Regions from separate parts of the Homo sapiens genome. Here region 1 is linked to region 2. Evidence: promoter capture Hi-C in human tissues and cell types (Jung and others, 2019). All regions are on one chromosome and are shown on one strand. Each heading gives the region's core, a stretch centred on a gene start or on the middle of the fragment in contact. The rest is flanking DNA. Distances are from core to core; before and after follow the strand shown.

The links. The method cuts DNA at HindIII sites, captures the fragments that hold promoters and counts their contacts. A contact is called where the count stands out against the background at its distance.
Region 1: a contact is called between a fragment that was not itself captured here and the fragment with the promoter of DOCK7 in region 2, in 1 of the 25 tissues and cell types used here (hippocampus).

Annotation. Positions count from the first base shown.
Region 1 is chr1:63,527,747-63,533,595 of GRCh38, reverse strand. EFCAB7 (EF-hand calcium binding domain 7) reads right to left here. Exons shown (of 14, transcript NM_032437.4): 3 at 1,565-1,776; 4 at 840-926; 5 at 1-142. It also overlaps a transcript of ITGB3BP not described here and the pseudogene RN7SL488P. Among named protein-coding and RNA genes, the nearest start is that of EFCAB7, 7.1 kb to the right of the region's middle. The HindIII fragment of the contact is 6,676 bases long and covers 1-5,317 here.
Region 2 is chr1:62,683,955-62,689,777 of GRCh38, reverse strand. DOCK7 (dedicator of cytokinesis 7) reads left to right here and starts at 1,392. Exons shown (of 50, transcript NM_001367561.1): 1 at 1,392-1,551. The coding sequence starts at 1,514. DOCK7-DT (DOCK7 divergent transcript) reads right to left here and starts at 1,296. Exons shown (of 2, transcript NR_185999.1): 1 at 1,126-1,296. RefSeq lists an enhancer at 1-280 and a silencer at 1,290-2,039. The HindIII fragment of the contact is 7,491 bases long and covers 1-3,523 here.

The sequences.
Region 1 (5,849 bases), core at 730-3,229, 840 kb before region 2:
TTGGTACTGGTGATGGGTCCCTTTCAGGGGACCCTTCGATGTGGTTTCCAAACTGGTGACGCATCAATTTACTGTCAACCTCTAGTTTTTCTAGTGTAGTCTTGAGACATTGCTCGTTGGTTGTCATATATAATTTACAAAACTACAGGAAAAAAAAAGTCCAGTGGGTAAAACATTCAATCATACACTGGGGAAGAGGAGAAAGCAAATGCACATTAGTAGGCAAGGAACAGACTGATAGATGGAATATATTTCCTATTGATGGTTACGCATTTTATTTTTTTGAATCAGATTGACCAGCCTCAAGTGACCTAGTGAAATGTAGCCGTGATTCAATGAGGAGTTCATACTCTGTGTGAAAATAAAATGTTACACAAGGAGAGGTGATTTATTATTATTTTTTTACAAGATGTGTAGGCTTGCATTTGTTCAAAATAATTTTTATGATTCTTCCACCCCAGAAAAAGTACATTTCTGAGTAGAGTCTCTATGTTTATGTGTGTATCTGTCCGTGTGTGTGAGCACACATGTTTTTTAACTTGGTTATATTATTTTAATGTAGTCATCAGATTGCAATTATGGGACTGGAAAAATTAAATTTCATGCACAATATTTAAGGATGTCATTGCCAATATTAAAAAGATGCATCCCTTTAAAAATAATTTGCTGACATGTTAATTAGTTGACATGTTAACTGATTTAATTGTTTCACAATGTATACATATATCAAAACATTGCATGTACACTGTAATGTCAATTATACCTTAATAAAGCTGGGGAAAAATAAAAACACTTTTCCAACACAGTATGTAAATTTACATCAATGTGAGCTTATGTACCTTGATGTAGTCAAATTTGCCATCAGCATTTACATCAGCCAAATTTATTATGGCATTTACTTCTTCTCGAGTCATCTTCTCACCTCTCTGAAAAAAAAAAACAAGATTTATTTTAAAGCAACATGATTACTCCTTTGTTATTCATGGGGACAGTGGAAGCACATTTTAATCTTTTCCACAAGTAAGTCTGAATGTATTGCTTCATTATAAATCATGAGTATTATATATAAAGAAAGAATGAGGCGGCTATATAAATTTCACAATTTTATTAAATTTTGTGAAAGTGTGCTGAATTTCAGTTTACTAAATAGTAACTAACAATTGAATAGTATAGAGTCAGTTATAACTGCTATTGAGTTTAGGGGAATGATATTTTCTAACATTGTATCAAAAAACAGAATGGATTCCTAATCCCATTTATATTTGGTTTTCCTTTTACTTATCACATATGGAACTATCACTGATTTTCAAAGAGTTCTGAACAGGAACCAATTAAATAGGAGAACAAGGGGATGGTAACATAAGCTCGATTTTATACTTTATCTTTTATTTACAAAGAACATTTCATCCAGAAGGATTCCTAAGTACGTTATAAATAACATGTAAGTAATTCATTTAACCTCTCAATGAAATACTTATTTTTAATGTGGACTTTGGTAGTCAAAGCTAGATTCCAAGCTGTTTTAGAAAATATGCACATTACAAAACAGTTTTACAGATCTTACCTTTGTTAGAAATTTATAAAGGTCAGTGTGTAAAATACAGCCATCATCATTTACATCTAATTGCTTAAATGATTTTAGTAGTTCTGCTTTTGAAGTAGGTTTTTCCTTCCTTAAAATTATACAAAAATCATCAAAATTCAGTTTGGCAGTTTGAGGAGTCCAATACTTATTAATGGTCTTTTGGGATGGATTTCTTCCTGCATGCTGAAGAGCTGCCCAACAAGACAAGTATTATTTGTGATTGTAACACCTGGAATTTGTACTTAAGCGCATTTTTTTCTTCAAATCATTATGTATTATGATATTTACAAAACACTATACATATACCAGTACATTACTTTGGTGTTGACTTATCTAGTGATACCAAGATAGGCCTGACTTTGAAAAACAAAAATATTTATGCCACCACCTAAACATTCTTTAATTATTAATACCAGAATTAAATAGATTTTCCTTATTCTGACAGTTTGGTTCTCAACCTACATGGTTTAAATAACTAACAATATCTGATTACTTAAGAGCTTCTAAAAGCTTCTAAAGGAAATACAAGATTAAAAACAACCATCCACTTAATTGTTTGGGGGACAAAAGGATAACACAAAAAGTATAAATTAGTACTTTTTCTGGCTAAATAAATACCTTAATGACTATTCAGCCATAAAGAAGGAGGAAATCCTGTCATCTGCAACAACATGGATGAACCTGGAGGACAACATGTTAAGTGAAATAAGCTAGACGCTGAAGACAAATACAGCGTATCTCACTTGTGTGGAATCTTAAAAAAAAAGTTAATATCCTAGAAGTAGAGAATAGATCAGTGGTTACCAGAGACTGGGAAGGGGAACTTAAGTACTATCTAAGTACTCTGGGGGTAGGGGAGGATGGGGAGAGGTTGGTCAATGGGTACAAAGTTACAATCAGATAGTGGGAAATAGGTTCTGCTATTCTATTGCACAGTATGGTGACTATAGTTAGCATTAAGGTACTGTATATTACAAAACAGCTAGAAGAGAGGCTTTTGAATGGTCTCACCACAAAGAAAAGATAAATGCATGCAGCGACGGATATACTAACTACCTTGATTTGATCATTATACAACATATAAATGTATTGAAATGTCAAATTGTACCCCATAAATACATACAATGTGTGAATTTAAAAAACAAATATCTTAATGAAATGAGAAAATCATTCATTTAAGAATACCAATGTCAATAAGGCACGATATCTAAAATGTTCATCTTTGCTAGGTACTAAGCTTTCAAAAACATTAATCATGTTCCAAATGTCAAATATATGCACATAAAGTATCCCTTTGCAGGCATGGTCCTGCTAAAAATCAAGAATGTCAATATACTGTGAGAGAAGATTATTATAGAGATGCTATGGTCAAACTACTCTTCATTTTTAACCATATCCTTCTATCTATGAAGAGCAAAGAAGTACATGTGAGAAAAGCTTTGTATATTTATGTATGTCATATCACTCTAAAATAAAATGGTTAAAGCAACTGCAGATATTTTGAACAGTTGAATAGAAGTAACTTGGTAATTTGCAAATAAATCTCTGCATACTGAAATATAACATTTTCTAAAATGAACCAATGATAAATTTCCTAAGCACCACAGAAGGAATTAACATAATTTTAAAAGATACAATTGTCCTGAATTGTACTGCCAAATTCTATTACAAAATCTTATATTGGATAGTTCCAACTATCTTTATAGAAATTCACAAGATCTGCGCATCACCAATCAGCATCAAAAAATGATAATCTGGATATTGTACAATTTAATGTAATAAGGACCAGTAAGTATAAAACAATTTCACTAAAGAAATATCCTCATGGAAATAGAAACCAGATCAGGGTAATAAATACAGATATAAGTGAGTCAGTTATATTGAACATTATTGTGCACAAGTATAGTATAGGGTGATTTTTGTTCATCAATACAAACTTTTTAGTTCCAAAGAAATTTTATATTCTAGACTGGCGTGGTGGCTCACACCTGTAATTTGGGTTTACAATTATACTTTGGGTGGCCGAGGTGGGCAGGTCACCTGAGGTCAGGAGTTCAAGACCAGCCTGGCCAACATGGTGAAACCCTGTCTCTACTAAAAATACAAAAATTAGCCGGGCCTGGTGGCCTGCGCCTGTAATCCCAGCTACTTGGGAGGCTGAGGCAGGAGAATCGCTTGAACCTGGGAGGCGGAGACTGCAGTAAGCCGAGATTGAGCCACTGTGCTCCAGCCTGGGTGACAGAGGAAGACTGCATCTCAAAAAAAGAAATTTTATTTTATTATTATTATTATTTTTTGAGATGGAGTTTGGCTCTTGTTGCCCAGGCTGGAGTGCAATGGTGTAATCTCGGCTCACTGCAACCTCTGCCTCCCGGGTTCAAGTGATTCTCCTGCCTCAGCCTCCCGAGTAACTGGGATTACAGGCATGCACCACCACCCCCAGCTAATTTTGTATTTTTAGTAGAGACGTGGTTTCTCCACGTTGGTCAGGCTGGTCTCAAACTCCTGACCTCAGGTGATCCGCACGTCTCGGCCTCCCAAAGTGCTGGGATTATAGGCATGAGCCACCGCGCCTGGCAAGAAATTTTATAATCTAAATAGGAAGTCTACATCTGACTGTAAAATTGCTATCTATGGCCATAACTCATGGGTTATAACATATTAAAAATCCATAAATAAAATTCTCTTCTCCTCTAGATTATGCCAGTGACTTTCAGAGCTAACAGAAGTTGTAGTTGTGGTAACCGCCATCTTCCATATACCTATAAAGGCTTTGTGGAAATTCATTGCATTGGAGATAATATAAATGTTTTTATTCCCACAGTTTTATTTTGGATGTCGACAAAAGCCCTGATTACCATGCTGCCCTAGCAACAACAGGTAAGTAAGTATTTTGCCTAGTGTGTAAATGAACTATTCCTTAATTCAGCTGTTTACAGAATCAAAGAAATGGCAATATGTGTTTTAGGATTCCAACCCCAGCCAGCTCCTACCCTTTAAAAGCTGGGAATACAAGTAGATGTAAATGAAGTTGTAATTTTTTTTTTGCCTCTAAAATATTTTTATTTTAAAAAGGCTTAGTGTGCAAAGATGTTTATCATATTGCTACACTACTGCTACTAATAATAAAGGAAACAATGTTCAAAGAATCAAGGAGTGGTTAACTGAATCATGGTACATATACAGAACACATTTACACAACTACTAAATTATTTTTATGACAATGAATATTATATAAAATTTCCTGCAAAATTTCTTCCTTATTGTTAAGCCTAAAGTGCCTTTTTTCTAAGGTTCTTTTTTTTAAATCTTTAATTTTTGGAGATACATAGTAGGTGTATAATATGAGATTTTTTGATACAGGTATGCAATAATTACATCAGGGTAAATAGGGTATCTGTTGCCTCAAGCATTTATCCTTTGTTTCAAACAATCCAATTATACTCTAATTATTTTAAAATGTACACTTAAATGATTTTTTTTACTAGTGTCACCCTGTTGTGCTAGCTAAATACTAGGTCTTATTCTTTCTATTTTTCTATTTTCTATTTTCTCCCCCTACCCCCACTACCTTTCTCAGCCTCTGGTAACCATCATTTTACTCTCTATCTCCATGAGTTCAATTGTTTTAATTTTTAGCTCCCACAGATAAGAAAGAATGTGTGATGTTTGCCTTTCTGTGCCAGGCTTATTTCACTTAACATGATGACCTCCAGTTCTATCCATGTTATTGCAAATGACAGGATCTCATTCTTTTTTATGATAGCTGAATGGTACTCCACTGTGTATATGTACCACTTTTTTTATTTTTATCCATTCATCTATTGATGAACTCTTACGTTGCTTCCAAATTTGGGCTATTGTGAATAGTGCTGCAGTAAACATGGGAGTGCAGATATCTCTTCAATATGCTGATTTCCTTTTGGATATATACCAAGCAGTAGGATGCTAGATCCTATGGTAGCTGTATTTTTAGTTTTTTGAGAAGCCTCCAAACTGTTCTCCACAGTGGTTGTACTAATATACATTCCTACCAACAGTGTAAGAGGGTTCCCTTTTCTCCACATCCTTGCCAGCATTTGAAGTCCACATGAAAGAAAATTATATCTTCTGTTCAGTTTTGAGAAAAAAGGTATGTAACTTTTTCTCACAAGTGGTAGCTTAGCATATGCTTGCTGCTATCTTTAGTAACAAAGAAAATATTGTTTTAAAAAATGTACTGGTAATTAGACAAGAACAACTTTCTCAGAATAAAATTAATTAT
Region 2 (5,823 bases), core at 143-2,642:
CTGTCTAAAATAAATAAATCAATAAATAAAAGCAGTGTGTTACTGCAATGAGCATTGTTATATAAATACACAGTCTTCCACAGAAGTTACAGCACTAGACAGGAAGTTATGGATCTGACTAATTGAGGCTTTCACCTCTGACTCAGTGTGTGACTCTGGCAAGTGACCTAATGGCTCCAAGCTACAGATTTTCCAATGGTAAAAGAGAGGAAAACAGGTATCCAACATATTCCACCAGGACATACTGAGAATATAATAATAACAATAAATAAATACACATTTTAAGTTCTTGCAATACTTAAGAGGAAAGGTACTACAAGAAACCAAGATATTTTTCTTAGTGTCACCATAATTTCAGTATCAACAGATATGCATTAGGAGCCAAATATTCTAGACATTATGGGATTACAACAGAACAGATGAAAACAAATCTCTGCTAGTCTCTGTTTTATAGGCTATTATGGACAAGGTCAGTTTCAGTGGTCAACACAGAGCTTATTTAACAGAACATCAAAATGGGGGTGAACGTTAGAGCTCACCTGGATTTTATATATATATATATATATATATATATATATATATATATATATATATATATGTATGTATGAGAGACAGAGAGAGATCCAAAAGGGGTTAATAATACGGAAACAACTGTCCTCAAAGAAAAGAACCGGCTCTGGGTTTGAGTCTCAGTGGAAGAGTTTACCATCTGTGCGACCTGGGGCCAGTCACTTAGCTTTTCCAAGCCAATTTCCTTCCCTCTAAAATAGTGATAGTAACGATCTACTTCAAAGCGCTCGTGCTTGAAAAACTTTAATCCAGTGGCTGGCTAAGCACCAGAAGTCAACTATTACTATTGTTATCGCTGCAGGAGCAAGGTATTTTCTGGCTCTTTCTCTATAAGAAAAACCACTGTTTCTCCAGTTAGGCTGCATTCATGAGGCCGAAGCAGAAACCCAAGTGCTTTAAAAAGCTCGGAGACCGGTGCTGCAGAAACATGAACCCAGTCATCCAGGGCTTTGGTTAAAGCACAGCCCCCTCGGCAAAGCCCACCTTTCATTTCCTTCCCTTCCATTTCGGGAAAGCCAAGCTCCCCCTACGCGTTCGGTTATCTTATTTTCTTGCCTCGCCAGGTCGCTGGCCTGTCTCTGGCTTCTCTCCGCGACCTCTCGGTCGTGCAGGCTCCGCGGCAGCGAAGCGGCTGGGGCTGGCGCCTCGCTTCCTCAGCGCTCCATTCTTCCCCTCGGCTCCCGCCGGCCGCAGCCGCCTTCCGCAGCCGGGGTTCCCGCCGGGATTGACGCGCTGGGGGAGGAGCGGTTTCTCGTTGCGCGCCTCTAAGGAACATTACGGCAGGGCTCGTTCCTGGCTCCGGCCGCCAGCCCCAGCCTCCCAGGTCCGGAGCCCGGACTGGCGGAGGCCGCGAGGGAGGGAGCACGAGCGAGGAGGCACGCGCCCGCCGGTCCGCACCCGGCCCGCCGCAGCCGCCGCCGCCGTCGCCGTCGCCGCAGCAGCCATGGCCGAGCGCCGCGCCTTCGCCCAGAAGATCAGCAGGTAAATATCCGGCGTGGGGCGCGCCGCCGCCGCCGCCCGAGAAAGAGCCGCGGAGTCCTCCCAGGCCTGGCCTAGGAGGCGGGTGGGTGTGGCGGGGCCGGCACCGGGATCCCGCGGCCTGGCTCGCGGCGGGGCGGAAGGGGTTCGGGGTGGCTGAGGGGGTAGCGGAGGCCTCGCGCCGCCCTCGAACCCCGGCCTTCAGCCCGCGCCCGCCGCTGAGCCTCGGCAGGGAGCGGAGAGGGCCGCGGACTCCAGCGCGCCCGCCTCCTCCTGCTCCTCGGCGGCCCGGGCCTGGACTTCTGCGGAGGTTTATGGAAGGGCGGTCGGCCGCTTCCCAAATTCTTTGTGTTCCCACCCCCGGGCTCGTCGGGGGCCGCCGCGGCGTTTCGCCCCCTCCCGTCTCTCCGCCCACCCCTCTTGGCCCCTAGAGGGTGCGGGGTCCGCCCTCCTCCACCCCAACAAAAGGAGAAACGCGCGGCGGCTCGGGGCGGGTGGGAGGCCGCCCCTCCTTCACGCGTCTCTCTCTTCCTGAGAAATCTGACAGGAACCCTCTTTGCACCCTCGGGCCAGGTTCAAAGTGGACTTGTGCGTCCAGGATTGAAAACGTGTGGACAGAATGAAAAGTTGAGAGCTGCGGGCTGCACCTTCGGTGTGCAGCTGCCGAATCCCTGACGGATTGCAGGCTGAAGCTTGTTCTGAGTTCGCCTGTGAATTTAACTGTGCGCCTGTGTTTCTCAGAGCACCCGAGAAGATGGATGATAGGCAGTGTTCTTTATACACTGACATCCTTTTATATGTTAGCAGTCTTGAAGTAAAGCAAGTGATTGCAGTCTTGAAGTAAAGCAAGTGATTGAGGTGGAGGTTTCAAAGCCTTTCACCTACTTGTGGTGGTTGGTTGCCACCTTTCTCCCACCCGCCAAATAAAAATTAAATGACAGAGGACTCTAATATTTGTAGAATTTCTTTGTGGAGTATACTTATGTATGAGACAGTAGACATTTTTGTTTTAATAAAATCATATTTGTGTGAATTATGATGTCCCAAGAAAAGAAGCATTCATATTAAATTACCTTTTTTTGTTTTGGGGCAGTTGTAGTTCTGTGGCTCTGAGTCTTTTTAGTTTGCTGACATTTCTTTAAAAATTTTGGGCCGGATGCAGTGGCTCAGGCCTGTAATCCCAGCAGTTTGGGAGGCCGAGGCAGGAGGATCGCTTGAGGCCAGGAGTTCAAGACCAGCCTGGGCAACATAGCGAGTCCCCCCCACCCCATCTCTGCAAAAAAATTAGCCAGGTGTGGTGTTGCACCTGTCGTCCTAGCTGCTTTCGAGGCAGAGGCTTTTTTTTTTCTTTCTTTCCAGCGTTCTAGCACTTTTTTTTTCCTGAAGGGGCAAAATAGCAAGTGTTTAAGAGCATGGGCTCTACTCTCAGACCCCGACATGGGTTCAAATCCTGATTGGTATTTTCTAGCTTGGGACTTTGGCCAAGTTGTTGGGCCAAATTTCCGTTTCCTCGTCTGGCAAATGAGAATAATAATAGGACCCAGCTCATAGTGTTGTTGTGAACATTAAGTGGCATAATTTGTGTAATGTGCGTAGGATAGTACAGGGCCTATACTACCTGTCATCAAACACTTGTAGTAATTAGTTTCTCCCAGGGAGTTATGATGACAGGAAATTTTTTTTTTTTGTAAAATAATTAGGTCTTACTTCTGATGATGATGTCATTAAAAAATGTTATTACTGGCCGGGCGCGGTGGCTCACGCCTGTAATCCCAGCACTTTGGGAGGCCGAGGCGGGTGGATCATGAGGTCAGGAGATCGAGACCATCCTGGCTAACAAGGTGAAACCCCGTCTCTACTAAAAAAAAAAAATACAAAAAATTAGCCGGGCGCGGTGGCGGGCGCCTGTAGTCCCAGCTACTCGGGAGGCTGAGGCAGGAGAATGGCGTGAACCCGGGAAGCGGAGCTTGCAGTGAGCCGAGATTGCGCCACTGCAGTCCGCAGTCCGGCCTGGGCGACAGAGCGAGACTCCGTCTCAAAAAAAAAAAAAAAAAAAAAAAAAAAAAAAAAAAGTTATTACTTGACATGTATTCCTAGTTTTAATTTCTCTTATTAGAACCAGAAGTTTATCTCTGAAAACATCATGCTGATAAAGTAAGTGCACTTTAGAGAGTTGGATATGAAATTGTATGTCTATTAGTGGAGTTCGCCACCAGATGGGATAGGACAAACCACAAGAGAAAAAGAGAATCAGTTGTGCAAAACAACACAAAATGCAAATAAGAACAGCTTTCTAAGAAGTTATAAAATTAAGATAATGTGAATGAAGAAATGTGCACTTATTGGACAGACAGGAGGTGGATATGGTAGTGATTGGTGATTGGACATGCAAGGTGAGGCGGACTGAGGAGTCTGGGATGACATCCTAAGTTGGGCAACCACGTGGATGATGGTGGCAGTCTTTGGGGTAAGGGAGTACAGGAGGAAAAAGGAGTTTGAGATTGGGAGATGCAAGTGGGATGGAGATGATGATTCAGTTTTGGACATGTTAATTTTGAGGGGCTCATGAATCATTCAGAGAGAAATATCTATTTGGTTTTTGGTGCAGGTTGAAGGTGCAGAAGAGAGATTGGGCTGGAGATCTAGATTTGAGAGTTATCAGCAAGTAGATTGCATTTGGAGCCCGGGGGTGGGTGGGGGTTGATGAGATTGTCCAGTGAGAATGTGCAGACTTAACTTGGAAGGAATACCAAAGACAGAACTGCTATGAGTAATGCATTATTAACTGCTTATTGTGAATGAAAGGTTCTTCCTTGTTATCAAATATGATTGAATAATACTTAATACTTCTGAATCAATTCGTGTTCTGCTTTTTAACTTTTCTATTAGAGGAAGTATAGCACAAATTCTGGAGATGAAGTTCCTGGGTTTGACACCCCAGCACAGCCACTCGTTGAGTAAACATGGCCAAGTTACTTGACCACACTTCTGCCTCGTTTTCCCTATCTAGAAAATGAGGATGATGGTAAGACTTAACCTCGTAGGGTTGTTGTGGGGATTAAATGAATTGTTACCTCTAAAGTGCTTAGAACAGTGCTCTAAGTGCCTAGTAAGTATCAACTGTTTTTTACTACAGTATTTATAATGTGGTTTGAGGCTTTTGTTGGAAATGATAATCCTTTTCCTAGTGTTCGTATATGAAATTTGTTGCTCTGTGAAAAGCCTGTTGCTGTTTGAAACCTTATTTCTTTTCAAAGCTTTGTGATTGTTCAGAAACCTATACTTTAAAAAGAATTATAATGATCTTGTTTCTGTCGCAGTTATTTTTTAGCCCCTTGCATTTAGTGCAGTTATTTTTTGAGGCTGTGATTTGGTGATTTCTGAAGGCTCTTTATTCTTATTATCACTAATTATACTGTTTACTTCAGCTCACCATAGAAAAGCAGCATGTATATCTTGTCCATATCAAGTAGTTGTCTTTGTACATGTGTGTCCCCTTTGCTTTTTGAGGATAAGGCCCATGGATTTATGGAATGTAGACTGTAGACAAATTGTCTAGGATTTTGTTGGGATTATTTTGTCCTGTTGCTTGATACTCAGCAGTAATGATGAACATTTGTGTACACTTAAAGCACTTTTTACTGCATTCTCATCTTCATAACCCAGAGAGGCAGAAAATGTACTAAAGAATATAGGATCTGGGATCAGATTGCACAGGTTGAAATTCTGCATATACCACAGAAAAATGGGGATAACAGCCTCAATAAAGTTAATGTGAGGATTAAATGAGTTAATACATGTGTAAGTGAGCTAATACAGTTCTAATAATGCATTAGTAGTACTGTGTCAGGAACATAAGCATTCAAAAATGTTAGCCACTGCTATTATGATTTCCATATTACTTACTGTTGTTATCATTTTCTAGATGAGGAATTGAGGCCTAAAAACAGCAACTGTATTTGCCTAAATTGGGACTCAAATCCTAGTTCTCTGATTTCAGATTTTTTTTTTTTTTTTAAGATGGAGTTTTGCTCTTTCGCCCAGGCTGGAGTGAAGTGGCGCAATCGGCTCACTGCAACCTCCACCCCACTGCCCCGGGTTCAGGCGATTCTCCTGTCCTCGTCACCACGCCCAGCTAATTTTTGTATTTTTAGTAGTGACGGGATTTCACCATGTTGGCCAGACTGGTCTCGAACTCCTGACCTCAGGTGATTCACCCGCCTTGGCCTCCCAAAGTGCTAGGATTACAGGCGTAAGCCACCTCGCTCAGCCTGA